Linked DNA regions of Homo sapiens: all the other regions are linked to region 1. Evidence: promoter capture Hi-C in 16 types of primary human blood cells and fetal thymus (Javierre and others, 2016). All regions are on one chromosome and are shown on one strand. Each heading gives the region's core, a stretch centred on a gene start or on the middle of the fragment in contact. The rest is flanking DNA. Distances are from core to core; before and after follow the strand shown.

Region 1 (5,698 bases), core at 2,356-4,855:
GCTGGTCTTGAACTCCTAGTCTTAAGCAATCCGCCCGCCTCAGCCTCCCAAATTGCTGGGATTACCAACACGAGCCACCATGCCCAGCCCCTCCCATCTTCTGAATAGGAAAACTGGGGTTTGAAAAGGTAAGCGACTTGCCCAAGGTCCCCTCCCTAGCTAGAGAGCTTCAGAGCCAGGGCACAAACCCATCAAAGCCTGTGCTCTCGCCCATTGAGCCACCGGACCTCGTACACTAACCGCCAAGTGTTCTACACAGTGAAGGTGACAAAGAGGTGAAGGGAAGAGCCAGGGAGGTTCTGTGGACTCACTCGGTGGGTATGCCCAGAGGGAAGGGGGATCTTGGGTGGCACATTGAGAGTAGCTGCGCTGTTAGTAAGTGAGAACTCGGAAGTCCAGACTCATCCAGTCTGTGCCAATAAACCCCTCCTTCTACCTGGTCTCCTTTCCAAAGCCAGCTGTTCTCCAGACAATGGGGTGGGCGGGGGCGGGTGTCCTCCTCCTTCTCAGGGAAAATCCGACGCTGAGCCCATCTCCAGAGATCTTGGCTTCCCGTGGGGCTGCAGATCCACCTAGAGCCACCAGAGGGCGGGCCAGCACTGCGGCCAAGGCTTGAAGACCCAGCACACCAAAGCCCGGCCAAGCCTCCAGCCCAGTGTCCAAGAGTCCAGCCAGAGGCCGAGTCCTCGATCTCAAAATGTCTAACTGCAGAAGCCCAACTCATGTTCAGGCATGATGTGTCTGATTCTACTGGGACAATCATTGCCACCAAAGAATTACTGCCAAAATAGTAACGACATTAGCTACCTACCACCCCTCCACACACCAACACACCTCATTTTACCAAGCACTTTCTCATGCCTGGGGTGCCTGGAGACTTAATGCAGCCTCGCGATGACCGGGTAGCCTCACCGTACAGATGAGGAAACTGAGGCACAAGGAAGGGGAGTACATTGTCTAGGGTCACCTGGAGAACTCTGATCTCCAGACTCAAATTTCCAATTCGTCCCCCCTCCCCCCAACCCTAACCGGAGCTAGGTGGGGTGGGGACAGCAAATGTGGATGGGGGGAGGTAAGAGGGGTCAGAGTGCTCTACAGAGAAGACCAAATGCATTGTGGCACCTACTGTAAAATGAGACCAGCCAGCCACCCACCCACCAGCCAGCCACCTAAAAGTCTTCAGTGGGCACCTGCTGGAAACACGACAATGGATGACACGAGTTCCCTGCCCTCAAAAAGCTGGTAGTCTAGTTGGGGGTGGAGGGGGTGAGTCAGCAGATAATTATGGGAAACCGTGACACCTGTATAAGGGGCGGGGATGAGCAGAGGGGCTGCGACTGCCTGGAGCCAGGGATTCCCGGACGGGGCTTCCCTTTCCTCGCAGCTCGTCCCAGGAGGAGGAGCTCCCCCCCAGCTTCGGGGTTCCGCCTGCCTTGGGGGCCCGGGGTCCCCTCCCACCCCTCCCCGAAGAGCGCGGGCCCCGGGAACCGATGACAGCACACCTGAGTCAGCCCGCCGCCCACCCGCCCCTCAGCGTCTGTCTCCGCATCTTGTGATATTTCGCTCCCCGGGAGCCAGCCCCACTGCGCTCCGGAGGCAGCTCGGCAAACAAACCCAGCGACAGATTGTGCCGCGGCTCATTCCGGGGAAGGACGCCAAACCCCACCCTGCTACCCCCAACACTCCCTCCCCGCCGCCGCCTCCAGGCCCTCCCCCCAGGCGCAGGCCCTAGTCGGGGTGGGTCCTGGGGAAACGCAGGGTCCTGTCCTGCCTCCTGGAAATAGGGGGAGCCCTGGGTGAGGGAAGACGGGAGCCCCAGAGACTTTTCTTTCTGTTTCTACCTGATCCGAAAACGAGAGGGGCGGGAAAGGAAATTTAGGGGCACAGAGAGGAGCTGGGGGGCCGAGAAGGTCCGAAAATGGAACCAGCAGGGGGCACCCGAGAGCCGAGGTGCCCACGGGCCGGGAGCCTGGGAATGAAACTGGGGAAGAGGGGGAGAGAAAGGGAGGCAGAGACACCGAGACACACAGAGACGAGAGACAGAGACGCAGGGAGCCCCGCGGGGAGGAGGAGAGAGACGAAGACACAGAGAGACAGTGAGAAAGACAGAAGACCGGGCAGGGAAACAGACGAGTAGAGACAGAAAAGGTCCGAGAGAGAGTGAGGGAGGGAGGGAACAGAGAGACAGAGACCACGAAATATGAGTAAGAGTCGGGGGAGAAAACCAGAGAAATCGAATGAGAACGCGAGAAGAACGAGAGACCGTGGAGGGAGCAGAGAATGAATGGGAAGAATAAGACCAACATTTATCAAGAGCCGACTGTATGCCAGGCACTGCATTGGACCCTGGCACGGATAGGAAAGGAGGAGCCGCGGCGCGGGCAGCGGGGCGAGGGGCTTCTGTGCTCGCGGGAGCGGCAGCCCAGGGGGCTCAGCAGCCCCGGCACCGCCGCACCTGAGGCTCCAGCAGCCCCAACCCCGCCAGCGCTGCCTGGCCACCGTACCCGAAGCGGCTCCCCCGAGGGCCCCGAGCCTATCCTACGCCGGGGCGGCTCCGCGGACGCGCCGGGCCGAGTCAAGACCTGGGTCAACCGCCCTGCAGCCTTTGTAGGGAAGTGCCTAGGTGATGGGTCTGCTGATACCGCCTGTGACCAGGCCATGAAGGGCCAGAGGGGCTCCAGTGAGACCATAATCCGCCCCTCTTTAAAAGGGGGTAGAGGAAGTTCACGCGAAGCCAACAGTCTTCTCCCCAGCTTTGGGTCCTCTCCTGCACCCCCGCGGGAGATAAGGTCTCCCCTCCCGGACACATCATACATACACAAAAAAACGCACACACTCGCACGCGCGCCCATCTCGCACCCGCTTGTAAATGCACTAAGGGGCATACACACACCGGGCACATATTTCTTTCCACCCATCCCCAAGATCGCAAGCGCAAAACCTCGCACAGCCTCACGTTTCCCACCAGCTCAGACATGCACGCTGGCGGACTTTCAGCGGCTCACCCGTGTGCACACTCACGTGCCCCCCCCCCCGCTTCCCCAAGCCCGTACAAAGGGTAACGGGCAAGCATCCTGAGTCACACCTGCACAAGCATCCTTGCGCGCACGTGCACGCTCATATGCACTCGATCTTGCACGCACAAACTCTTGCATATACTATTCTTATAGTCGCACACTGGGCTTGAGGTCTGGGAGTGGAAGGAAAAGTGGAATCTTGGAGCTGTCCCAGGGGACAGAAATGCTGGAGGCTGGGACACTGGCGCGAGGGACGCGGCTGGGGGCGGGGGAGGGGGTGACCCAGAAGCTCATCTTCTCCTGGAAAGTTGGGAGGGGGGAACAGGACAAGTCCACGGCGTTCCTCTAAACTACCGCATTCCCCCAAGAAGGGATTTCTCTAGAAGAGTGGCGCCGCGAGGACGATCGAACACAGTCCTCCGGGTCGCTTAAGCGGGGGGGAGGGGGGCGGGGTGGAGGGGGTTAGAAAGCCGCTCCCGCCTCCTAGTGGTCGAGAAAGGGTTAAGTCGGCAAGCCAGCAAACGAGGGAGGAGCCAGCGAGTGCGGGAAGGAGTGGGGGTGGTTGGGAAGAGCTTCCTCGCTGTCCCCACTCTCCCTCGGCTAGCAGCCTGGGCACACGGACAGACGGACTGACGGACTCTCGAGCGGACAGCGCAGCTAGCGGGGCGCGGGCGCTGGGCGTCGACGGCCAGCCCCAGCCTTCCCCGCCCCGTCGCGCCCCGCCCCGTCCCGTCGGGGCCGATGGCTCCTCCCGAGGCCCGCAGCCCGGGCGGCGCAGGGTAGAGCGCCGCGGCCCGGCCACGCAGCCCGGGGACTCCCGGGCCCTCCCGGAGCCCCGCGGGGTCCCCGCCGTGCATCCGGCGGGCTCAGGGAGCGAGTGGGAGCGCCCTCCCCCCGCTGCCCCCTCCCCCGAGCATCGAGACAAGATGCTGCCCGGGCTCAGGCGCCTGCTGCAAGGTAAGAACGCCAGCGGCGGGAGAGCGGAGGGCATCCTGGGGAGAGAAGCAGGGCGTCCCCTCTTTCAGGGATTGAGGGTGGGGCAGTTGGGGAGGTGGGGTAACCTGGGGAAGGGGAAAAGCTCAGCGCTGGGGCCGCGCCCCCGCCGCCAGGGCTGTTCTCAGCAGGAGGGCACTTGGCTGGGAGCCCGCGGGCGCGTGCGAGGAGCTCGTGACCGAGGTGGGACGCAGGGGGCAGGTGGACCCGGCCCGGAGCGGGGAGGGAGGCTCAGGTTCCGCTGTCCCCGCTCCACCTGCTCCGGGGGACGCTGAGGACTCGGGCCGGCTGGGGAAGCGCCGACTCAGCAACTCCTCCTGCCCGGTGCCTCAGCACTTTCTGGCCACCTGGGAAGACAGGAGATGTGGGTAGGGGGCTGTCTGGGGAGGTAGGAGGCGCAGAGGGAAATCCAAGTGGCCCTCTCTGGTAGGAGAGATGGAGGGCGCTAGAAAGAGGATAGTTCTACTGATTGAGTGACAGATAAGGGTGTGGGCCAGAGACTGGGGGTGGGGTGGGGAGGGGTCAGGGGGAGAGGGATAGGAAGGAGAACTCAAAGATGGAGAAAGTGGTGAGGGAAGCTCAAAGGAGGAGGGAGATGGAGCGGGGGAGGGGGAGAAGGAATAAAGGTTAGATGGGAAAAGCGTGGAGGGAAGTGGGACCCAGGTGAAGACCAAGGAAGAGGGAAGGAGAGGAAAGACCAGATCAGGGGAGGGATGGGAAGAAGACTATGGACAGGGACCCAGAATCCTGGGATGGAGGTAGCGGGAAAGAGAATCAGGACTGGGACCCTGGGGACTGGAATGGAAAAGGAGAATGGAAAGATCAGAAACCAGAGAAGGATGGGGATGGTGACTAGAGAAGGGGTATCAGGAACCGGCGAAGAGGGTTGGAGACAGGGAACCATGGATGGGAGAGGGGCTGGAGAGGAGGGAAGAGGAGGAGGAAGAGAAAGGCTGAGAGAGAGGGACTGGGGATTGGGGGTGCTGCCCAGGGATGAGACAAAGAGGCTTCTGGTAACCACTTCCACGTGGGAAGCCCTCCATTCCCAAAGCGCCTGCCTGCCACATTTCTTCTCTCAGGGAGTGGCTGGTGGGCCAGATGGGGGGTGCTTTGAGCTCAGGGCCCTGGGGGTGGCTGTGAGGGACAGAGGGTGAGGACTTTGGAAGGGGAGTGACAGCCTCCGAGGGTGGGCAAACAGGCTGGCTCCTGTGCTGCCATTTATTTATCCGGCCTGGACGTTGGATTCTGCAGCCGCTGCCGCCACCACGGTGGCTGCTTATTTTGGGGTGTTACATTCTGGCAGAGTGAGAAGCTGTTTGCAGCAGCTCTAAACCTCCGTCACCCGCGTCAGTGCCTCCCCAGGCCCCTGCGTCACTGGCATCACCACCACCTCCATCCCACTCCTCAGCTCCCACCTCCTCAGCCCCTGCCCCCTCAGCATCTGCCCGCAGGCCCCAGCCCTTCCCTGAAGCAGCCCGTTGGGTGTGGAGCCCTTGCTTCTCGTCTGGGACCCTGTGCCCCTCCTTCCAGAGCGAGAGGCCTCTGCTGCCTTTCCAGGGAGCATCCTTTCCTGGGACCACTCTGCACCAGCGACTCTGCCCTGTGGGTGGGTAGCCTGGATCCTGCCCCCTACTTTGGGTCCAGTTTTCTTCTCCTCAAGTTCCTTCTTCTACAGGGGCCTCCGGCCC
Region 2 (5,698 bases), core at 1,448-3,947, 240 kb after region 1:
AAGGGGAATGTTTGGGTAAGAAAGTATGGATATAGAAAAGAACATCATTTTTTTCTCTGAACCTTTGAAACTGTCTCCCTTTCCAATGTTTTCTGTCCCATTTCCTGACACCTACGTCTTGTCTCTTCTTTCCAGAGATGAAGTACAGCTGAAGACCACCTACAGCAAATCCAACGGGCAGCCCAAGAGCTTAGGCTCAGCCTCCCCTGGCCCAGGCCAGCCACCTCTCAGTAGCCCCACGAGGGGAGGAGTCAAGAAGGTGTCAGGGGTTGGTGGTACCACCTATGAGATTTCGGTGTGAGCCTTCGGCACCTCCCCTCCCCAACGCCTCTGCGCCTACACCAAAGGGCCCCAGGTGGCCACCTTCCTTCCCTCAAGGGGCTCCCCTCCCGTGCATGGACATTTTTTAAACCACCGATTCCAAGAGGATGAGGAGTGTTTTCTAAAATGCAGTAGGCTTGGGGAGTCGGAGAGTTGGGGCCCTGAGACTGGGGTAGCAACCCCCCCTTTTATCTTTTAAGACCTTCCCTTCCTTGATCCCTGGACCAGACTCAGTGGACATTTGTGCAATTGCTCGCCCTGGAGGGAACCAGATCATTTTTAAACCAGAAATAATTTTTTTTATTATTGTTACGGATTCTATTTTTTTCCTCTTCTGCGTTACCAGGTGTGTGTGTACATATAATATATATATATATATATTATAAATATCAAAGAAATTATATATCTATCCTGGGATGGGAAAATGAGGGAGGGATACATATACGGAGGGGGATCTTACTCTTCCCATTCCTCAGACCAGCAGGAAAAGAGGGGAGACGTCAGTCTTTTTCCTGTGGTTCCCTCTCATTTGTCCCAGTTACTAACTACGGAAATAGCATCCTCTGCTGGTGCTAAGTGTGATTAGGAAGAAGCCTGGGGAGAGGTGAGTCTGGAATTTTGGTCACAAGAGGGAAGGACTTGGAGAGGAGAATTAGTTTTCTAGGCTCATTGGCATTTAGTTTCCCTAGGAAAGGGGTCAAAACTTCAAGACACTGGTGGTGGTGGGAGATCAGGAAAATAACTTGGCCTAGCTCAAACAATATTGGATAATCCCCTCCTTGGGGGAGAGGGATTAGAGTGTGCTCCTACTGGCCCCTTGGAGCCTCCCCTAGCTTACACAGTTAACTTGATTTTAAAATCCAAGGCCAGGAGAGAAGAATCCAAAAAGCAATATTTTTCATCACATGCCAAAAACGGGGGATAGAGAGAAGGAGTGGCAGGCCTAGGCCCCTCCGATTGTCCCTTGGGGGTTACCCCTCAGCCCACCTCACTATGGTGCTGGGTAGAGGGGATACCTGGGTTCTAACCTCTAAATAGGGGAGATCCCAGCCTCCACAAAGAGGCCCTTTTATTTTTTATTCTGATTAGCCATTTTAAACCAACGAGGAATAAAAAGAAATCCTGATCTAACCAGCGCCCCCTGACTTGTGTTATTTTGTCTGGTTGAGACAGGGTGAACGATCTCTGGTGGGAAGTTATCAGTGACAACCTCATAAACTTCTCTGGTCCCAGCCCATCTTTAGGCAAGACTATAATGAAATTAGCCACTTAACAACTAAAAAAATAAAAAAGAGACCCAGTGCGGTGGCTTATACCTGTAATCCCAGCACTGAGGGAGGCTGAGGCAAGAGGATCACTTGAGCCCAGGAGTTCCAGACCAACCTGGGCAACATAGAGACTCCATTTCTAAAAACAACAGGTCCTGTTTTTATTTGGGTGATTTAATTCAAAAATTCCTGAAAAAAGGTCTCTTGAAATCACCAAAACTGCTTGTTATTTGAAAGCTTAGAGAACTCTTAAAAGTTGTTTCTTTCAAGAGACAGGGCCTCATTCTGGTTGCCCAGGCTGGAGGGCAGTGGCACAATCAGATCACTATATCCTCAAATTCCTGGGCTCAAGGGATCTTCCCACCTCAGCCTTCTGTGAAGCTAGGACTTACAGTTGCATGCCACCATGCTTAGCTAATTTTTTTTTTTTTGGTAGAGATAGACTCTCAACCAATTTTGCCCAGACTGATCTCGAACTTCTGGCCTTGAGCAATCCTGCCTTGGCCTCCCAAAGCATTGGGATTACAGGCATGAGCCACCATGCCCAGCTACAGTTGTTTTTTAATACAGGATTTAGTCTCTGGAAAGTAAAGCTAATTTTGGAAACAGCCAAAGGTGACATAGTAACAGGTATGAAAGCCTGTTGAAGGCAGGTTAACTAGATATCGGTGTCAGTTCAATTAGATATATTGCATTTTATTGGACAAAAGCTGTGCTCTAATTTTAAATAGGTATCCTTAGACACTAAATCTCAAGCAGTTGACCAGAGCCCTTTAATTACTCAAAATTTAAGAATATAAGCTCTTAGCCGGGCGTGGTGGCTCACGCCTGTAGTCCCAGCACTTTGGGAGGCCGAAGCGGGCTGATCACAATGTCAGGAGATCGAGACCATCCTGGCTAACACAGTGAAACCCCATCTCTACTAAAAATAACAAAAAACTAGCCTGGCGTGGTGCGGGCGCCTGTAGTCCCAGCTACTTGGGAGGCTGAGGCAGGAGAACGGCGTGAACCTGGGAGGCGGAGCTTGCAGTGAGCCGAGATCACGCCACTGCACTCCAGCCTGGGTGACAGAGCAAGACTCCGTCTCAGGAAAAAAAAAAAAAAAAAAAAAAAAAAAAATATATATATATATATATACTCTTATTTGGGTGCAGTAGCTCACACCTGTAATCCCAGCACCTTGGGAGGCTAAGGCAGGTGGATCACCTGAGGTCAGGAGTTCAAGACCAGCTTGGCCAAAATGGTGAAACCCCGTCTGTACTAAAAATGCAAAAATTAGCTGGGCGTTGGTTATGGGTGCCTGTAATCCTGGCTATTTGGGAAGCTGAGGTGGGAGAATCACCTGAACCCAGGAGGTGCAGGTTGCAGTGAGCTGAGATTGCACTACTACACTCCAACATGGGCGACAGAGCAAGACTCTTTCTCCAAAATTTAAAAAAAAAAAAAAAAAAAAAATATATATATATATATACAAAAATTAGCCAGGTGTGGTGACGCACACTTGTAGTCCCAGCTACTTGGGAGGCTGAGGTACAAGAATCACTTGAACCCAGGAGGCAGAGGTTGCCGTGAGCCGAGATCATGCCACTGCACTCCTGGGCAACAGAGCAAGACTCTGTCTCAAAAAAAAAAAAAAAAAAAAAAAAACCCAGCAAACTCTTATTCTGAAATCCTGGATTTAAACCAGCTGAATGAGTGGTTTTCCACCCACTGATTCAGGAACAACCTTGGCTTTCACGGCAACAGATTTTAACTGTGTTAAATTTAAAGTCAGATTACATTAATTCAGGTTTTCTCATGGATGTTTTCAGTTACCTAACCAGCTGGAAAAACTAAAAGTGTTTTTTGTTTTTGTTTTTCACATTTTGATGGTTTAGGCTACATTTTGTTGCTGTTTTAGAAATGTTTTCACATCAGCTAAATAACTTTATTGTCTTAACTAAGGACCGAAGCAGGTCAAAAGTTCTTGTAAAGAGAAGGGAAGCTTTACCTTTGCTTGCCAGAAGTTCATCTCAAAAGATCACAGGCTTCTGACCTAAAGAACCAATCTTGTTGAAACACATGGGTGACTGTCCATGTGTTTTCAGTTGGCTATTCTCTTTCGACACAAAATTGACCTAGAATACACTGTTGAGCCCTACCTGGATCAGCTCTTCAGATGGAGCCTGAGATCACCGAGGCGCTTGGTTCTCAACATAATGGGCAGAGTGTTACGTGTCTGCTGTGGAGTATTAGTAAGCTTGGGTCACTTTTCATTTTGGTTGGTTCCCTGCCTGCTAGTGAGATCATGTAATGACAAGACCCAAATCCCCTCAAGTCTTAGGAATGCCTTGTCTTAAATCCTGATTCACAGAAAGGCACATACCTCTTAACAGGCAGTCACACTTCAGCCAGTTTGATAAATGTAATTTTTTTTTTTTTAAAGAAAACACAGAACAAGTCCTAAATCAGACAAATTGCACAAAAGAGAGAGAAGAAAATTGTAAGCTTCCTGGGAGAGGAAGAGATGTCCATGAGAAAACCAACTGGGATGAGCCTACAAAAGCATGTCCCTCTCTCTCCTAATTTACTTAGTCTCAACTGAGCCCAACAGGAGCTGGCCTCTGTCCCAGCTGCAGGATGCTCCCAAGGCAGTGTCCAAGAGCCTGGAAGGCAGCTTTTATCAGCAGGTTCAGTACAGCAGGAAAAGCCATCCTGGCAAAGAGTCCAGTGGTCCTATTAGCGTAGGCTGCTGCTGCTGCTGGCCTGGGAGCTGCCCATACCTGGGTGGTCTGGACTATGTCGATTCTGGGGGAGAAAGAAGCAGGGTAAGAACAACTAGGAACTAGCCTTGGCTTTGATCAGGCTGTACAGGAGAAACCTGCAACCTGCCTTGGGTTTTCAATCTTGGGTCCAACTTGAGGCAAAGAACTCTAGGGTATTTAGGACAGGGGTGAGATCTGGGGAAACTCACTGGGTTGTGGCAATAGGCCTCTACTCTACCTTCTTTTTCTTCTTCTCTTTCTTCTTCCTTTTCCGTTCAGGATCCTCTTCTTTTTTCTTTTTCTTCTTCTTGTGATCTGAATCAGATGGTGTTTCTGTAGGAGACATTAGGTACCTATCACCTGTAAAGCTCAAAATCCTCTACTGTTATGAACCACTGAAGACTACAGGAAAATCCCAAGTCGGGGCAACTGCTTTTGTCCAAATGGCCAGAAAGGATACAGAGGTGCTGCTAGAGTCCCTGTCCCAAGTCCCAAGAGACCACAGTACATTGGTTTCTTCTTCAGGGGAATTTAGGAGTCCAGAGCTCCATACGGAACTTAACTGGGTTTACCTATGGAAGTTCAAACCAGATTCAGAAGGTCAGGTTTTTTTTTTTTTTTTTTTTTTTTTGCTTTGAATAGAACTGCTTCTTACCTGGGGGGACAGGATCCTGGGTACGGCTCTGTTTGTGCTTGTGCTTATTCTTCTTCTTGGGAGGCTGAATATGCATCAGACGACACTGCTCCGGCAACTGAAGGAACCAAAGGAAGGTCCAGGTGAGTAGAGGGAGGAAATCTCTCCTGCTCTTATCATCCATTCTGCTCCATTATGAAGGAACAGACTTGGAGAGAAAAACCATCTCCATGTTTAGGCCTCCCCATTTGCCTTCTTCCTCCAACAGGACTCACCGGGCCAGTGTGGAGGCGGAAGCCGGCCAGCATGGTCCCTGTGATAGGATTGAAAGAGCTACTGAGAATAGGGGGCTTCTCAATGAGAGAGCGGAGGCTGCTGTTATCATGGGAACCAGGCAGATCAATCATCCCTGGCAGGTCAGGCAGGAAGTTACTTAGCTTCTCCTTCACCTTCTTCCCACAGAATTTATTATAGGCTTGTTCCAAGTTGTAGTGTGTGATCAGATTCGTGCTGCCTGTCAGCTCTGTGCTACCTAGACAACGCAGAATAAAAATAAAAAAGATCAGTCTTCAAAGTAGACCCAGGGAGTGAAGGACTATATATTAACCTAAATAAGACATTTTTTAAGTGCAGATTTTAAAATTTAAAATTTATTTTTAAAGAAACAGAGCAGGCCGGATGCAGTGGCTCATGCCTGTAATCCCAGAACTTTGGGAGGCTGAGGCGGGTGG
Region 3 (5,698 bases), core at 2,216-4,715, 200 kb after region 1:
CATCTGTGAGTGGCTGTGTCATTAACACCTGTGGCTGGGTCAAGGGCTCTGGTTACCAGGCTCTGGTGCATGCAGCCTCAGCTTTTGAGGTGGATGTCGTTGTTGTTCTGGATCAAGAACGACTGTACAATGAACTGAAACGGGACCTCCCCCACTTTGTACGCACTGTGCTGCTCCCTAAATCTGGGGGTGTGGTGGAGCGCTCCAAGGACTTCCGGCGGGAATGTAGGGATGAGCGTATCCGTGAGTATTTTTATGGATTCCGAGGCTGTTTCTATCCCCATGCCTTCAATGTCAAATTTTCAGATGTGAAAATCTACAAAGTTGGGGCACCCACCATCCCAGACTCCTGTTTACCTTTGGGCATGTCTCAAGAGGATAATCAGCTCAAGCTAGTACCTGTCACTCCTGGGCGAGATATGGTGCACCACCTACTGAGTGTTAGCACTGCCGAGGGTACAGAGGAGAACCTGTCCGAGACAAGTGTAGCTGGCTTCATTGTGGTGACCAGTGTGGACCTGGAGCATCAGGTGTTTACTGTTCTGTCTCCAGCCCCTCGCCCACTGCCTAAGAACTTCCTTCTCATCATGGATATCCGGTTCATGGATCTGAAGTAGAGATCAGCAGGAAGCCTTGCTGCCTGGGACATAGAGATCATCTGGCCACCCCTAGAGGCAGATGGGCTGAGATAAAAGACTGTTGGGGCCACCTGACCAGTAAACTGTGGACTAGTAGAAAGTTCATATTCTACCTCTAAAAACAGGTAGTGGTAACCTGACTCTTCTAATCTTGAACCAAAAGGAAAACCATGAGACTGTAATTGGTTTCTTAGACCACCTAAGATGCCACTTTGAATTCTCTAAGACCCTGGAGAATTGCATTTCTTTCACTGTGCTACTATGTGGTTTTTAAAAAATCAATGCTTTATATTCCATATGTGGTTCTTACCCATTTATCTAGGATGAAAGTGTGAATTAGAGGGACTCCTTCCAATAAAGTTCAAACTTAAAAAAAATCATTTTAATAAATATTTTTGCCATATCATAGAAGTTGGTATAATTTATTTTTTTCCCCTAAGCGTTATAGAAACATAATTGGAATGATTTATTGCTAAAATGCTTGGAGGAGGGGAAAACCAAGAAACCTACCTGTGAGCCACGTCAGGTTTTTTTTTTTGGTGGTGGTGGTGGTTGTTTTTGTAAGAGTCTCACACTGTCACCTGGGCTGGAGTGCAGTGGCGTGATCTTGGCTCACTGCAACCTCTGCCTCCCAGGTTCAAGTGATTCTCCTGCCTCAGCCTCCCAAATAGCTGGGGTTACAGGTGCCCGCCACCACGCCCAGCTAATTTTTTGTATTTCTTTTAGTAGGGACAGGGTTTCACTATGTTGGCCAGGCTGGTCTCAAACTCCTGACCTCATGATCTGCCTGCCTCGGCCTCCCAAAATGCTGGGATTACAGGTGTGAGACACTGTGCCCGGCTGTGAGTTCTTATGATAGTTCACCTTTCCTCTGCGCTTAGGTAAGTAGATGGTAAATCTGCTGTCAGTGCTGGATTTACTGTGGGGAGTTAGAGGCTGGTGATAATCTTGGAATGAGATTTCATATCTAATCATTTTCCAGAGATAGCTCATTTTCCTTCCAGTACAGCTATCCTTGTCTATTTGATTGGAACTAGGCCCTAAGTCAAAGTGTAACTTAAGCTTTCAGGTGGTAAGAAACTGGGAAAGCCCATTCTTTTTGATCTCTTGCAAATGACTGTTTGGTGTCCCTGGTTTGCACTTGGATTACTTAAGTATCTGATGCCATTCATCCATTCCTTCTTTTCATAAATGTTTACTGAGGACTGACTGTTTGTCAGGAGCCACTGTAGATGGGGAACAAGACAGACAAAAGTTTTATGGAGCTTACATTATAGAATAAACAAATTTAAAAAGGCAAGTGCTATGCAGAGACTTAAATTTGGGGGATATGAGACAGAGTGACTGGAGGCTACTTTAGATTGGGTGGTCAGGAAAGGCCCTTCCTGAGCATACATTTTGGGCTAAGACTTGAATGGCTGTGTGAAGTCTGGGGCAAAACCTTCCTGGTGAGAAAAAACTGCAAAACCCTAATAAAGGAACAAGCTTGATGAGTTTGGTGAAGAGAAAAGCCAGTGTGGTTGAAGCTTAGTGAACCAAGAAAGACTGTACAAGATGAGGCTGGAGGGGGCAGCAAAGACCAGATAATGTAGGGCTTTTGTAAACCACGGTGAAGAATGGATTTTTTGGCCCAGGTGCCATGGGTGGTGGCCATGCCTTTAACCCCAGCCACTCAGGAGTCTGAGAATCCCTTGAACCCAAGAGGTGGAGGTGCAGAAAGCCGAGATTGCATCACTGCATTCCAGTCTAGGTGACAGAAGGACACTCTGTCTCAAAAAAAGAAAAGGATTTTTTATTTCTTTTTAAGAGATAGGGATCTCAGCCGGGCGTGGTGGCTCATGCCTGTAATCCCAGCACTTTGGGAGGCTGAGGTGGCTGGATCACTTGGGGTCAGGAGTTCGAGACCAGCCTGACCAACATGGTGAAACCCCATCTCTACTAAAAATGCAAAAAAAATTTAGTTGAGCGTGGTGGCACATGCTTGTAATCCCAGTTACTTGGGAGGTTGAGGCAAGAGAATTGCTTGAACCCGGGAGGTGGAGGTTGCCGTGAGCCAAGATCACGCCACTGCACTCCAGCCTAGGCAATAAGAGCGAAACTCTGACTCAAAAAAAAAAAAAAAAAAAAAGAGATGGGGCGTGTCTCACTATGTTGCCCAAGCTGGCTTTGAACTTCTGGGCTTAAGTGATCCGCCCACCTTAGTCTCCTGAGTAGCTGGGACTACAGGCTCATGCCACAGCACCTGGTTTAAGAATGGATTTTACTCTTAAGAGCAATGGGAACCAGAGGGGAGGGGTAGTTAAGTAGAGTAATTATTTGATCTTTTTTTTTTTGGGGGGGGACAGAGTTTCATTCTTGTTGCCCAGGCTGGAGTGCAATGGCGCAATCTGGCTCAGTGCAACCTCCACCTCCCAGGTTCAAGCGAGTCTCCTGCCTCAGCCTCCCGAGTAGCTGGGATTACAGGCATGCGCCACCATGCCCGGCTAATTTTGTGTTTTTAGTATAGATGGGGTTTCTCCGTGTTGGTCAGGTTTGTCTCCGACTCCCGACTTCAGGTGATCCGCCCGCCTAGGCCTCCCAAAGTGTGGGATTACAGGCGTAAGCCAGCACGCCCGGCTGATCTCCTCCCTCCCTTCCCTCTTTCTTTCTTCCTTTCCTTTCTTTTCCTTTCCTTTCCTTTCCTCTTTCCTCTCTCCCTCCTTCCTGCTCTCTTTTTCTTCTCTCTTTTTTCTTCTCTTTTTCATTCCTTCCCCTTCCTTCCTATTCCTTCCTTTCCTTTCCTTCCCTCACCTCCTCTCCTCTCTCCTCCCCTTCCCTCCCCCTTTCCTTCCCTCCTTCTGAGTTTTGCTATGTTGCCCAGGCTAGAGTGCTGTGGCATGACCTCGGTGCACTGCAACCTCTGCCTCCTGGGTTCAAGTTATTCTCCTGCCTCAGCCTCCTGAGTAGCTGAGTAGCATGCACCACCATGCCTGGCGAATTTTTGTATTTTTAGTAGAGATGGGGTTTTGCCATGTTGGCCAGGCTGGTCTCGAACTCCTGACCTCAAGTGATCCATCCGCCTCGGACTCCCAAAGTGCTGGGATTAGCCTGGCTGATTACTTTACATTTTGAAAAGATCACTGCTTTGTGGAGAGTGGGTTATAGGGCAAGTGTAAAAGCAAGGACAGTAATTAGGAGAGTTTTGTAAAAGTGCAAATGTGAGAAATGGTGGGGGATGAAATACTAGGGCAGCAGAGGTAGAGCTGGTGAGAGGATATTCTGAAGGCAGGACTTCATAACGGAGTGGTGAGGAAAACGATGGAATCAAGGATGCATCCTGGATTTTTTTTAACAAGACACACTAGGTTAGACATGAGATTGGGAAAACTCAGGGAGTTGTCCCCCTGAGGGACAAGGGAAACTCGAGGTTTTTGGCAGTGTTAAATATGAGCTATTAATTGTCCATGGGTGGCGGAGGTTGCAGTGAGCTGAGATCGCGTCACTGCACTCCAGCCTGGGTAACAGAGCAAGACTCCATCCCCCAGCACCAGAAAAAATGCAGGAGCGAAGGAGATAGGATCCACAGCACAAAGGGAAGAACTACCCTTTAACACATACAGAGACATTTCACAAGGACAGGAGGAAAGAGCAGTATTTAAACACAAAGAGGTTGACCAGGAGCAGTGGCTCAGACCTGTAATCCCAGCACTTTGGGAGGTCGAGGCAGGCAGATCACTTGAGCTCAGCAGTTGGAGACTACCCTGGCCAACATGGTGAAACCCTAAAAACACAAAAATTGGGAAATGCATGTTCTAGCTTTCTGTGTGCTTAGGTGCCCATGCTACTGAGGGTCTAAGTCCAGGCAGCCGAAGAGTGTGGTGAGCAAGATGAACAAAGATGCGCAGATGAGAGAAGCCATTAACATATTAAAGTAATTTAAAGTTTGGGTGGTCTGGATATCATACTGTTTTAGCCTAGATTTTACTCTGGATACTTTTCAGAAGTAGCTGGCACTTTAAACCATATGTTCTATTAAACGTTCTTTCCAAGAAATATCTTGAGTGATCCCAAGGAAAACTGGACAAGTGGAATCTCTGTCTTTCAACTTTGGGATAGTGATTATACCTCTGTTAGTGCTCATCCACCTAACAAAGCTTGGCAATCCAAGTTAGTATCCCAGGGGAGTTTAGTTTGGTTGGATGGTGGAAGACTGATTTTTTTTTTCCATTTAGCACTGTCTAGCCAAGAGACACCACTATTTACAAGTTCTTAGACAGCTGAAAGGAAAATAAAAATGCCTAATTTGTGGAGGAAATCAGGAAGTCTAAAAATCCAAGAAAAATATTGCAACAGAAAAATGAAAGCTGACTTCATCTTAAAGAAACATGGCTTACAGGTAGAAAATGCCAATATCAGGCCGGGCACTGTGGCTCACACCGGTAATCTCAGCACTTTGGGAGGCCGAGGTGGGAGGATCATTTGAGGTCAGGAGTTCCAGACCAATGTGGCCATCATGGTGAAACCCCATCTCTACTAAAAATACAAATATTAGCCAGGTGTGGTGGCACATGCCTGTGATCCCAGCTACTCAGGAGGCTGAGGCATGAGAATTGCTTGAACCCGGGAGGAGGTTGCCATGAGCTGAGATCGCGCCACTGCACTCCAGCCTGGGTGACAGTGTGAGACTCCCTCTCAAAAAGTAAAAAATAAAATATCAATATTGTATCTTCAATAATTTACCTTTCATATGGTCTAAAGAGGTTTTTGTTTTGTTTTGAGACGGAGTCTTGCTCTGTTGCCCAGGCTGGAGTGAAGTTGTGTGGTCTCGGCTCACGGCAACCTCTGCCTCCCGGGTTGAAGCAATTCTCCTGCCTCAGCCTCCCGAGTAGCTGGGATTACAGGCTCCCCCGACCATGCCCGACTAATTTTTGTATTTTTAGTAGAGGGAGTTTCACTATGTTGGCCAGGCTGGTCTTGAGCACCTGACCTCGTGATCCGCCTGCCTTGGCCTCCCAAAGTGCTGGGATTACAGGTGTGAACCACCACGCCAGGCCAGGTCTGTTTTAAAAATATAAAGTCGT
Region 4 (5,698 bases), core at 1,966-4,465, 170 kb after region 1:
CATGCCCAGGCTCAGCTGGACACCTTCTGCTCATCTCTCTACACACCCTGAGAGCTCCTGTGAAGCTCCCCAATAGCCTCTACCCATGTGTGAGCCCACTTTCAGTTGGCTTTTACATGTGCCCCACTCTAGCCTTTATTTTCAGTATTTCATTGAAACTTTGCAATAATCCCATTATTGGTATTGTTTTGCCAGATTTGCAAATGAAGAAAAGGAGCTTCTGAGAAATAATTTGGGCTGGGGACAGTGGCTCATGCCTGTAATCCCAACATTTTGAGAGGCTGAGGCAGAAGGATCGCTCAAGCCCAGGAGTTTGAGACCAGCCTGGGCAACATGGCAAAACCCTGTTTCTACCAAAATAATACAAAAATTAGCTGGGTGTAGTGGCACATGCTTGTGGGCCCAACTACTCAGGAGGCTCAGTTGGGAGGATCACCTGAGCCTGGGAGGTCAAGGTTGCAGTGAGCTGTGTTCATACCACTGCACTCCAGCCTGGATGACAAAGAAAGACCTTGTCTCAAAAAAAGAAAGAAAGAAAGAGAGAAAGAGAGAGAGAGAGAAGGAAGGAAGGAAGGAAGGAAGGAAGGAAGGAAGGAAGGAAGGAAGGAAGGGAGGGAGGGAGGGAGGGAGGAAGAGAGAAAGGAAGGAAGGAATGAAAGAAGGAAGGAAGGAAGGAAAGAAGGAAGGAAGAAAGGAAAGAAGGAAGGACGGAAGGGAGGAAGGAAGGAAGGAAAGAAGGAAGGAAAAAATTTGCCCAGGATGATTCAGCTGGGAAGGGCAGAGGTGACATTCAAACCAAGGTCTGCTAATTGCATACCCCACCCCTGGGTCTTCTCCAGTCCTTCTCCTACCCCAGGATGCCCCAATTCACTATCTTAGGTTTAAAGGGCCTGCTCTGTGACTGGGCATTTCCTCTTGGAAGTCCCACAAGTACCTCTTCCTCATCTTGTCTCCTAAGTCAACTTAAAAGTCAAAGTCTTTCAAAACCTTCTTGCTGATCAGTAGCAGGATTGTGCCTAAGAATAGGTACTGCACTCCAGCCTGGGCAACAAAGGCAGAACGCGTCTGCTTATAATAGTAATTTTTTAAAAAGCCGAAGTTGGCCAGGTGTGGTGGCTCACACCTGTAATCCCAGCACTTCAGGAGGCTGAGGTGGGCAGATTGCTTGAGCCCAGGAGTTCGAGACCAGCCTGGGCAACATGGCAAAAACCCATCTCCACAGAAAGTACAAAAATTAGATGGGTGTGGTCGTGCACACAGCTACTCTGTGGTCCCAGGTACTCAGGAGGCTGAGGTGGGAAGATCACCTGAGTCCTGGGAGGTGGAGATTGCAGTGAGCCGAGATCACATCACTGCACTCCAGCCTGGGCAACAGAGTGAGACCCTGTCTCAAAAAATAAATAAATAAAAAGAACCAAAGTCTATATTAGTCCCAGAGTAGACTAATATAGTAGACCAAATACCATTCCCAAGGGCTATGGGTTAGGGGCTTAGCAGAAAATGCATGGCAACAGGACCACCAGGGTGAGGATGGTTCCTGTCCATGGACCACGATGGTGTGGTCATGGTCACAGTGAGCCTGTCTGCCGGCTGGCTTCAGGGAGCAGCATCAGAGCCGATTCCTACTCTGCTGCTACAGCCAGACTGTCAGGCCTGGAGCCCCAGTCCCTGGCCATCTAGCTCTGCTTCATCAGAACTGAGTTTCCTGGCGATTCCTCTGGGGCCCAGAGTGAACCTCACTAGAACACTTGCCCTCTTGCTGAAATAATTTTTAAAATCTCCTAGGAGGCAGGGACCGTATCTTTTTGTCATTATCCTCTGTTCTGAGCATGGAGCCTGGAACCTACAGAGTTGACACTCAGTACATATTAGCTAAAATAAAATGAAGCAAAACAAAACAGAACAAAAATGCATTTCCAGATCCTATTTATTTATTTATTTATTTATTTATTTATTTATTGAGACAGAGTTTCGCTCTGTTGCCCAGACTGGAGTGCAGTGGCACGATCTTAGCTCACTGCAACCTCTGGCCTCCTGGGTTCAAGTGATTCTCTTGCCTCAGCCTCCCAAGTAGCTGGGATTAGAGGCACACGCCACCACGCCCGACTAATTTTTGCATTTTTAGTAGAGACAGGGTTTCACCACGTTGGCCAGGCTGGTCTCGAACTCCTGACCTCAAGTGATCTGCCCGCCTTGGCCTCCCAAAGTGCTGGGATTACAGGCATGAGCCACCAGCCTGGTCTCTACAGATCCTGTTCATTTAAATGCTGCCATTCTTCTAAGCCCAGTGCAATTCTCCAACAGTGTTTTCTGCTTTTCCCAGCCAATAGCACCTCCTCCATCTTTAGACATAGTGCTGAACTTACACTGCCATGTAAAATCAGTAGCATGTACACAAATATTTGGCTTTCCCCTCCAACCACTAGGAAACTCCTTGTGAATCTGATTCAGGACATCTCTGGTCCCACCTATGCCTATAAATGGTCAGCAAACACTTTTGATTCAAAGTGTGCAGTGTCTATATTTGAGCAAAGTTTTGTTTTGTTTTGTTTCGTTTTGTTTAGAGACAAAGTTTTGCACTTGTTGCCCAGGCTGGAGTTGGCACAATCTTGGCTCACTGCAAGCTCCGCCTCCTGGGTTCAAGCAATTCTCCTGCCTCTGCCTCCCAAGTAGCTGGGATTACAGGCACCTGCCACCATGCCCGGCTAATTTTTTGTATTTTTAGTAGAGATGGGGTTTCACTACGTTGGCCAGGCTGCTCTCAAACTCCTGACCTCAGATGATCCACCCGCCTCAGCCTCCCAAAGTGCTGGGATTACAAGTGTGAGCCACCGCACATGGCCAAGCAAAGTTTTTTATTTTACAATGATGACATTAATGTTATTCTTATTTTATGTATCTCCTCTGGAGACTGGTGGAGCTAGGAATACCAAAGCATAGCTTCTCATAGTCATTATCAGCTAGGGTTTTGCCTTACAAATTATCTTTCAACTAGAGGAATTATACCTCTGTGTTTGGATGTTCTTTCCTCCTCCCTGCTGCCCCGTGTCTTTGATTCTTGGGATCAGGACTCCATGGCTTTAGTCAGAAGGGGTGAAGATGATTCTTACCCTTTAAGTAAGTAAGCACCTGGAGTCTGGAATTGTTCTAGGATTAAACAAGGCCACAGCCCTGTGAATTGCCTTATCTACTCAAATAGGCCGTCTAAAGAGAATCTATACTTTGTTATCGTCCTAGAGGCCTTCTTGCTTTCCACTAATTTATACATATTATCTACTGGCCAGGTGCGGTGGCTCACGCCTGTAATCCCAGAACTTTGGGAGGCCAAGGCGGGTGGATCACCTGAGGTCATGTGTTCAAGACCAGCCTGGCCAACATGGAGAAAGCCCATCCCTACTAAAAATACAAATATTAGTCAGGTGTGGTGGTGCACACCTGTAATCCCAGCTACTCAAGAGGCTGAAGCAGGAGAATCGCTAGAACCTGGGAGGCCAAGGTTGCAGTGAGCCGAGGTTTCCATTGGTTACTTGGTGTACGCCTTATGTAAATGAAGAGGATGAAGGAAAGTTACAAAGTCATTTACTCTGTGTACACCCTATGTAAACAAGAGGATATTTCCTGTCACAGCTGAAGTGTTTCCATTTGATTTAGTTCTAGAAAGTCCTTAGGTTCTCTGCCTCCAGGCCCTATTCTCCTGCCTCAATCATAGATCACTGCAGCCTTGAGGTCCTGGGCTCAAGCTCAGGTCCCACCTCAGCTTCCTGAGTAGCTGGGACCACAGGCCCGCACCACCATGCCCAGCTATTTTAATTTTTTTTTTTTTGAGATGGAATCTTGCTCTGTCGCCCAGGTTGGAGTGCAGTGTTGCGATCTCGGCTCACTGCAACCTCCGCCTCCTGGATTCAAGCAATTCTCTTGCCTCAGCCTCCCGAATAGCTGGGACTACAGGCGCCCACCACCACGCCCAGCTAATTTTCGTATTTTTAGTAGAGACGGGGTTTCACCATATTGGCCAGGCTGGTCTCGAACTCCTAACCTTATGATCCGCACGCCTCAGCCTCCTAAAGTCCTATTTTTTTTTTTTAAGAGGCCAGGTGTGGTGGCTCACACCTGTAATCCCAGCACTTTGGGAGGCCAAGGCGGGTGGATCCTCTGAGGTCAGGACTTCTGCCATTTTCCCATTCATTTATTCAAGTTTTAATTGAGTACTTACTTGTGCTAGGCACTGTTGTGGCAGCGGACAAACTGTTCAACAAGACAGAGCTCTTGTTCTCTGAACTTTAATGGACTGGTAATGTCTCCCTTCACTTCTCTCCATGTGATATGAAGTGTCCCAGTGTGTGTAGGGGATGTGGGAAAACAATTGAAATGTGGGGAAAATTTTGAAATGTGGCCGTGGAAGACTGATTTTCTCTTGCCTAAGATTTCCTTAGAATGTCCACTTTGGAGTAATGTGGGAGACAGTCCTGCCCTGGCTTATCTTGGGGTTTGGGATTAGGTCAGGGCTACATTATGAAATCAGTAAATTCTCCTAAGAATCCACAAACCAGACTAGTTCTTTCAGTTTCTCCAGGGTCCAAAGAGCTGTAGCTACCAAAAAGAGATCCCTGGCACTAATTAACTGGCAAATGTGGTAAGTTCACCACTGAGGACCTACATTTTCTAAACTAAAATCATGGCACAAGGTCTCAGAAGTCTCCATATTTATGGGATCCGCTAAAACTGAAAATTTTGAATCAAAGCTCTCCCCAAATATATTTGGAGAATAGAACATTGTAGTTATATTCACTAGGCTCATGACCCTAAAACCCTCTGGCTGGCTGGAAATTAGTCATGTCTAGCAGTCAATCAACGATTTTTCTAGCTAGGCCAAGGGTTCAGATTACTCCTCCTGAGAAACTTTCATTTGATCTGGGGAAATGTAAAAAGGAAAAATGAAAGGGCACAATCTCTGCTCTCAGGGAGCATCTTGGTCTGATGAGGAATTAGACACAAAATAATCATAACAGCACAGGTGGTAGGTGCAGCTAGACAGGCAACTCGGAATAAGTTTGGAAGGCCTTGAGTTCCATGCTAAGAAGTTTGGAATGTATCCTCTTGAAGAAGTTCTGACCTGGAGGAGATTAGAGCGTGTGTTGGGGGCAGTGGTATGTGAATGAACTCCAGAGGGTTCACGATCCCCTTGAGATGTATACCTGTATTAGTCCATTCTCACATTGCCATAAAGAACTACATAAGACTCGGTAATTTATGAAGAAAAGAGGTTTAATTGACTCACAGTTTTACAGGCTTAACAGGAAGCATGACTGTGAGGCCTTAGTTAATGTACAATGATGGCAGAAGTCGAAGGGGAAACAAGCTCCTTCTTCACATGGTGGCAGGAGAGAGAGAGAGCAAGGGGAGAAAGGCTACACAAGTTTAAACCATCAGATCTTGTGAGAACTCAATCACTATCACCAGAACAGCAAGGGGGAAATCCACCCCCATGATCCAATCTCCTCCCACCAGGTTCCTCCCCCAACACTGGGAATTATAATTCAACATGAGATTTCAATGGGGACAGGGAGCCAAACCATATCAATACCGTAATACAAAAAAAAAACAAAAAACATTTTTCTAGAAAGAGTCACCCATAGGTTTCATCAGCTTTTTTTTTTTAAGTGTCCGTGATCCAATAATGTTTAGGAAGCATTATCTA
Region 5 (5,698 bases), core at 1,652-4,151, 130 kb after region 1:
TGTGTGGCACTTCCCCCTTGTCTAGCTTTCTCTCCTGCCACCATGTGAAAATAGGCTTGCCTCCCCTTTGCCCTTCTGCCATGAAGGGCTTTAGCTCAGGCCACTGCTTCAGAGGGTGCAAGTCCCAAGCCTTGGAAGCTTCCATGTTGTGCTGGGCCTGTGGATGCGCAGAAGGCAAGAGTTGAAGTTTGGGAACCTCCACTTAGATTTCAGAGGATGTATGGAAATGCCTGGTGTCCAGGCAGAAGTCTGCTGTAAGGGCACAGCCCTCCTGGAGACCCTCTACTAGGGCAGTGTGGAGGGGAAATGTGGAGTTGGAGCCTTACACAGAGTCCCCACTAGGGCACTGCCTAGTGGAGCTGTGAGAAGAGGGCCACTGTCCTCCAGACTCCAGAATGGTAGACCCGCCAACAGCTTGCACTGTGCACCTAGAAAAGCCACAGGTGCTCAACGTCAGCCTGTGAAAGCAGCCACAGGGGCTGTACCCTGCAGGGCCACAGGGGAGGAGCTGCCCAAGGCCTTGGGAGCCCACCCCTTGCACCAGCATGCCCTGGATGTGAGACATGTTGTCAAAGGAGATTATTTTGGAGCTTTAAGATTTAATAACTGCCTGCTGGATTTTGGATGTGCATGGGGCCTGTAGCCTCTTTGTTTTGGCCAATTTCTCTCATTTGGAATGGAAGCATTTACACAATGCCTGTACCCCCATTGTACCTTGGAAGTAACTAACTTGTTTTTGATTTTACAGGCTCATAGGTGGAAGGGACTTGCCTTGTCTCAGATGAGACTTTGGACTTAGACTTTTTTGTTTTGTTTTGTTTTTTATTTGAATTCTCTCAACCCCTGCAGAGGACTTGGACATTTGAGTTAATGCCAGAATGAGTTAAGACTTTGGGGAACCACTGGGAAGACATGGTTGTATTTTGAACTATGAGAAGGACATGAGATTTGGGAGGGGTCGGGGCAGAATCATATGCTTTGACTCTGTGTCTCCACCCAAATCTCCTGTTGAATATAATCCCCAGTGTTGGGGGAAGGACCTGGTGAGAGGTGATTGGATCACGGAGGCAGATTTCCCCCTTGCTGTTCTCATGATAGTGAGTGAGTTCTTATGAGATCTGATGGTTTAAAAGTGTGTAGTACTTCCCCTTTCACTTGCTCTCTCTCCTGCTGCAATGTGGAGACACAATTGCCTCCCCTTTGCCCTTCTGCCATGACTGTAAGTTTTTTGAGGCCTCCCCAGTCAATGCCTCCTGTACAGCCTGTGGAACTGTGAGTCAGTTAAACCTCTTTTCTTTATAAATTACCCAGTCTCAGGTAGTTCTTTATAGCAATGTGAGAATGGACTAATACAGATATTCTAGAAACTTTCAGAAGGCCAGGCACTAGATGTAATAAGAGGAGTTGTGTAATACAAGCAGAGGTTGGACAGGGAGGCAGAGGTCAGCTTGGACCTAGTCTTGTAGGCCAGGGTCAAAAGTTTAGATTTTATTACAAGAGTGAAGAGAAAGGCTCATAAGTGACTTCTTATAAGAGTGGTCTCCTGGCTGGGTGCGGTAGCTCGCCTGTAATCCCAGCAGTTTGGGAGGCTGAGGTGAGTGGATCACCTGAAGTCAGGAGTGTGAGACCAGCCTGGCCAACCCCGTCTCAACTAAAAAATAAAAATAAAAAATAAAAAATTATCCTGGCATGGTGGTGGGCACCTGTAATCCCAGCTACTTGGGAGGCTGAGGCATGAGAATCGCTTGAACCCAGGAGGCAGAAGTTGCAGTGAGCTGAGATTGTGCCACCGCACTCCAGCCTGGGCAATTGAGCGAGACCCTGTCTCAAAAAAAAAAAAAAAAAGGTCTCCCATGGAAAACCAATTTATATTGATTATCATGTATTATATTATATTATATTAGTTATTATCATTCTGTCTGTGGATTGAAGAATATCTGGAAAGGACAGAGTGGAAGCATGGAAACCAGGCAGGAGGCTATTCAGTGGCCCAGGTGAGAGATGGTTGTGGCTAGATTGGGTTCATGGCCTCAATGATTGAGAGAACTGAGTGGATTCAGGATACATTTTGAAGATACTACCAAAAGGTCTGATGATGGGCTGGATGTAGGGAAAGATCAAGCTCCTCTAATCCCTCTGGGTGAGAGGCTATTTCAACTTCTACCACCTCCTATAGTGACCTGAGGTGGAGATAAAGGGCTCAAATTAGGACCCAAGATTAAAGACCTAAACCCAATCAAGTTCAAGGAACCTGGAACTGAAAAGTAAATACAAAATCTAAGACTTTTAGGCCAGTGATAAAACTAGGCCTTGTTACATAAAGGAGAGAGAAAATGAGGCCCAGAAATTATTGTTTCTTTTTTCGAGACAGAGTCTTGCTCTGTTGCCCAGGCTGGAGTGCAGTGGCATGATCTCAGCTCACTGCAACCTCTGCCTCCCAGGTTCAAGCAATTCTCCTTCCTCAGCCTCCTGAGTAGCTGGGATTACAGGCACACACCACCATGTCTGGCTAATTTTTGTATTTTTAGTAGAAACAGGGTTTCACCATGTTGGCCAGGCTAGTCTCAAACTCCTGACCTCGTGATCTGCCTGCCTCAGCCTCCCAAAGGTCTGGGATTACAGGCATGAGCCACCGTGCCCTGCCACAAAAATGATTTTTTAATGACATAGATTGAACTAAAACATGCACTGTGTTCAATAGCAGAAAAAAAAAATCAAGATCCTGGAAATAAACAGAAATAGGTGGAATACGTCTTCAGAGCAAACTATATAACTGTATTAGTCTGTTTTCACACTGCTATAAAGAACTGCTCAAGACTGGGTAATTTCGAAAGGAAAGAGGTTTAGTTGACTCACAGTTGTGCATGGCTGGGGAGGCCTCAGGAGACTTACAATCATGGCAGAAGGTGAAGGGGAAGCAAGAAACCCTCTTCACAAGGTGGCAGGAAGAAGTGCTGAGCAAAGAGGGAAGAGCCCCTTATAAAACCATCAGATCTCGTGAGAACTCACTCACTATCAAGAGAACAGCATGTGGGAAACTGCCCCCATGATTCAATTGCTTCCACTTGGTCTCTCCTTTGACACATGGGGTTTATGAGGATTACAATTCAAGATGAGATTTGGGTGGGGACACAAAGCCTAAACATATCAACAAGTATATTGAGAAACAGGCCAGGCGTGGTGGCTCCCACCTGTAATCCCAGCAGAGAAACATTAAGGAAGAGCCAAATAGTTGGAAAGCTATAACATGTTCATGGATTAGAAGACTTACTGTTATAAAGATGTCAATTCACTCCCAAAATGATCTATAGATGTAAGGTAATACCAGTCAAAATCCCAACATATTTTTCCCTTTTATTTTGTGGAGCCTGGTAAGCTGATTCTAAGTATATATGGAAATTCAGGGATCAAGAATAGCAGAGATCTTCTTGAAGAAGAATAAAATGTGAGGACTTGGTCTACTGAATATCAGAACTTAAACATGGTGCCGTCACAATTTTTTGTTGTTGTTGTTTTTGAGACAGAGTTTTGCTCTTGTTGCCCAGGCTCAACCTCTACCTCCCTGGTTCAAGTAATTCTCCCGCCTCAGCCTCTCAAGTAGCTGGGATTACAGGCATGCACCACCACACCCAGCTAATTTTGTATTTTTAGTAGAGACAGGGTTTCTATCTCTGCTAACACGTGAAACCCCATCTCTACTAAATATACAAAAAAAAAAAAAAATTAGCTGGGCGTGGTGGCAGACACCTGTAGTCCCAGCTACTTGTGAGGCTGAGGCAGGAGAATGGCGTGAACCTGGGAGGCGGAGCTTGCAGTGAGCCGAGATCATGCCACTGCACTCCAGCCTGGGCAACAGAGCAAGACTCTGTCTCCAAAAAAAAGAAAAGAAAAGAAAAGAAAAGTCTGTAACTGGAGAAGTGACCATGGGGCTTCATGTTCAAGTTGGGCAGAACAAGGAGGGTGGCTCCCTGTTTCTCAACAGGCATTGAGGAACGCAAGGTGAATTTTGGCTTTTCTGGAAGTGGAGCAGGCATTTTTACCCTCAGGAGAGGTGCATGGAAGCAGAAACAGCAGGTCAAAGCAAGGGGCCACAATCTGAATGGAGCCAAATTCACAGCTGAGTCAACAGTCCAAACCTAGCGCTTCCATCTACAGAGCTGGCAACGGAGAATTGGAAACAAAGGCTAGAAATAGAAAGGTAGCAGAGAAAGCAGGTACGCTGCTGTGCAAGAAGTGGAAAAGATAGTAAGTGAGAGGGAAACTTCTGGAACCGGCATGTAGTTAAGGGGATTGGTTTGGGAATCAATCCAAATGTCTCTCTCAGGGTGAGATCAAAGAAATAGTTTGTAATACATCCATACAATGGAATACCGTGCGGCTGTAAGAAAGAATGAGATAGAGCTGCCTGCAGTGACATGGAACAATGCCCATGCTACTTTATTAAGAAAAGAAATTAGGCCAGGCACAGTGGCTCATGCCTGTAATCCCAGCACTTTTGGAGGCCGAGGCGGGTGGATCACGAGGTCAGGAGATCGAGACCCATCCTGGCTAACACGGTGAAACCCCCTCTCTACTAAAAACACAAAAGAAATTAGCCGGGAGTGGTGGCGGGCGACTGCAGTCCCAGCTACTCGGGAGGCTGAGGCAGGAGAATGGCGTGAACCCTGGAGACAGCGCTTGCAGTGAGCCGAGATAGGGCCACTGCACTCCAGCCTGGGTGACAGAGCAAGACTCCCGTCTCAAAAAAAAGAAAAGAAATTATGGAAGAGTAATAATTATGTGTGTGGGGAGAGATGAAGTAGATATGATTTTATAAATAGGCAAATATAAAAGCATACACTCAGAATTATTAACAGCAGTTTTGTCTGTGGTAACTTTTAATTTTGTAAGTGTCTGAATTGTTAGAAACGTTTTGTTTTGTTTTGTTTTGTTTTGTTAGACAGAGTTTTGCTCTTGTTGCCCAGGCTGGAGTGCAATGGCACGATCTCGGCTCACTGCAAACTCCACCTCCTGGGTTCAAGCGATTCTCCTGCCTCAGCCTCCCGAGTAGTTGGGATTACAGGCATGTGCCACCATGTCCACCTAATTTTTGTATTTTTGGTAGAGACGGGGTTTCACCATGTTGGCCAGGCTGGTCTTGAACTCCTGACCTCAGGTGATCCATCCACTTGGGTCTCCCAAAGTGCTGGGATTACAGGCGTGAGCCACCACGCCCAGCCAGAAAAGTTTTACAAAGCACGTATATGACTTTGTAGCAATAACTTTGAAAGAATCATTTAATTTTTTTTTAGACAGGGTCTTGTTCTGTCGCCCAGGCTGGAGTGCAGTGGTGTGATCACGGCTCACTCCAGCCTCGAACTCCTAGGCTCAAGCAATCCTCCCACCTCAGCCTCTTGAGTAGCTGGGACTGCAGGCATGAGCCACCAAGCCTGGCTAATTTTTTTTATTTTTTGTGGAAACGGGGTTTTACCATGTTGTCCAGGCTGCTCTCAAACTCCTGGGCTCAAACAATCCCCCTGTCTCAGCCTCCCAAAGTGCTGGGATTACAGGCATGAGCCACTGCACCCAGGAAAAGAATAATTTTAAAGATCCTTAGAAAAATGATTGAATGGACCAATTTAGAATATCTATGAGGACTCATCAAATGTTTCTATTCTACTCGAAGAAGCTTTGTATTCCTCGGCCTGCCAGGATCTGC

The links. The method cuts DNA at HindIII sites, captures the fragments that hold promoters and counts their contacts. A CHiCAGO score of 5 or more calls a contact.
Region 2: a fragment that was not itself captured here is called in contact with the fragment with the promoter of RTN4RL2 in region 1 in 3 of 17 cell types (neutrophils, M0 macrophages and activated CD4 T cells); the score reaches 6.7 in neutrophils.
Region 3: a fragment that was not itself captured here is called in contact with the fragment with the promoter of RTN4RL2 in region 1 in 6 of 17 cell types (neutrophils, M0 macrophages, M1 macrophages and 3 more); the score reaches 7.6 in neutrophils.
Region 4: a fragment that was not itself captured here is called in contact with the fragment with the promoter of RTN4RL2 in region 1 in 2 of 17 cell types (neutrophils and monocytes); the score reaches 7.4 in neutrophils.
Region 5: a contact is called between a fragment that was not itself captured here and the fragment with the promoter of RTN4RL2 in region 1, in 1 of 17 cell types (neutrophils). The highest score is 5.8, in neutrophils.

Annotation. Positions count from the first base shown.
Region 1 is chr11:57,456,923-57,462,620 of GRCh38, forward strand. It overlaps RTN4RL2 (reticulon 4 receptor like 2), which reads left to right and starts at 3,606. Exons shown (of 3, transcript NM_178570.3): 1 at 3,606-3,974. The coding sequence starts at 3,944. RefSeq lists silencers at 2,454-2,513, 3,613-3,882 and an enhancer at 5,318-5,698. The HindIII fragment of the contact is 14,932 bases long and covers 1-5,698 here.
Region 2 is chr11:57,699,731-57,705,428 of GRCh38, forward strand. ZDHHC5 (zDHHC palmitoyltransferase 5) reads left to right here. Exons shown (of 12, transcript NM_015457.3): 12 at 136-1,452. The coding sequence ends at 301. It overlaps MED19 (mediator complex subunit 19), which reads right to left. Exons shown (of 5, transcript NM_001317078.4): 2 at 5,243-5,499; 3 at 4,989-5,085; 4 at 4,572-4,666; 5 at 3,980-4,376. The coding sequence ends at 4,308. Among named protein-coding and RNA genes, the nearest start is that of MED19, 9.6 kb to the right of the region's middle. RefSeq lists an enhancer at 4,405-5,604. The HindIII fragment of the contact is 1,747 bases long and covers 1,825-3,571 here.
Region 3 is chr11:57,660,820-57,666,517 of GRCh38, forward strand. It overlaps CLP1 (cleavage factor polyribonucleotide kinase subunit 1), which reads left to right. Exons shown (of 3, transcript NM_006831.3): 3 at 1-1,046. The coding sequence ends at 617. Among named protein-coding and RNA genes, the nearest start is that of ZDHHC5, 4.4 kb to the right of the region's middle. RefSeq lists a silencer at 2,122-2,191. The HindIII fragment of the contact is 2,607 bases long and covers 2,163-4,769 here.
Region 4 is chr11:57,622,607-57,628,304 of GRCh38, forward strand. No RefSeq gene overlaps it. Among named protein-coding and RNA genes, the nearest start is that of MIR130AHG, 13 kb to the right of the region's middle. The HindIII fragment of the contact is 8,519 bases long and covers 1-5,698 here.
Region 5 is chr11:57,587,081-57,592,778 of GRCh38, forward strand. No RefSeq gene overlaps it. Among named protein-coding and RNA genes, the nearest start is that of SERPING1, 7.8 kb to the right of the region's middle. The HindIII fragment of the contact is 5,530 bases long and covers 137-5,666 here.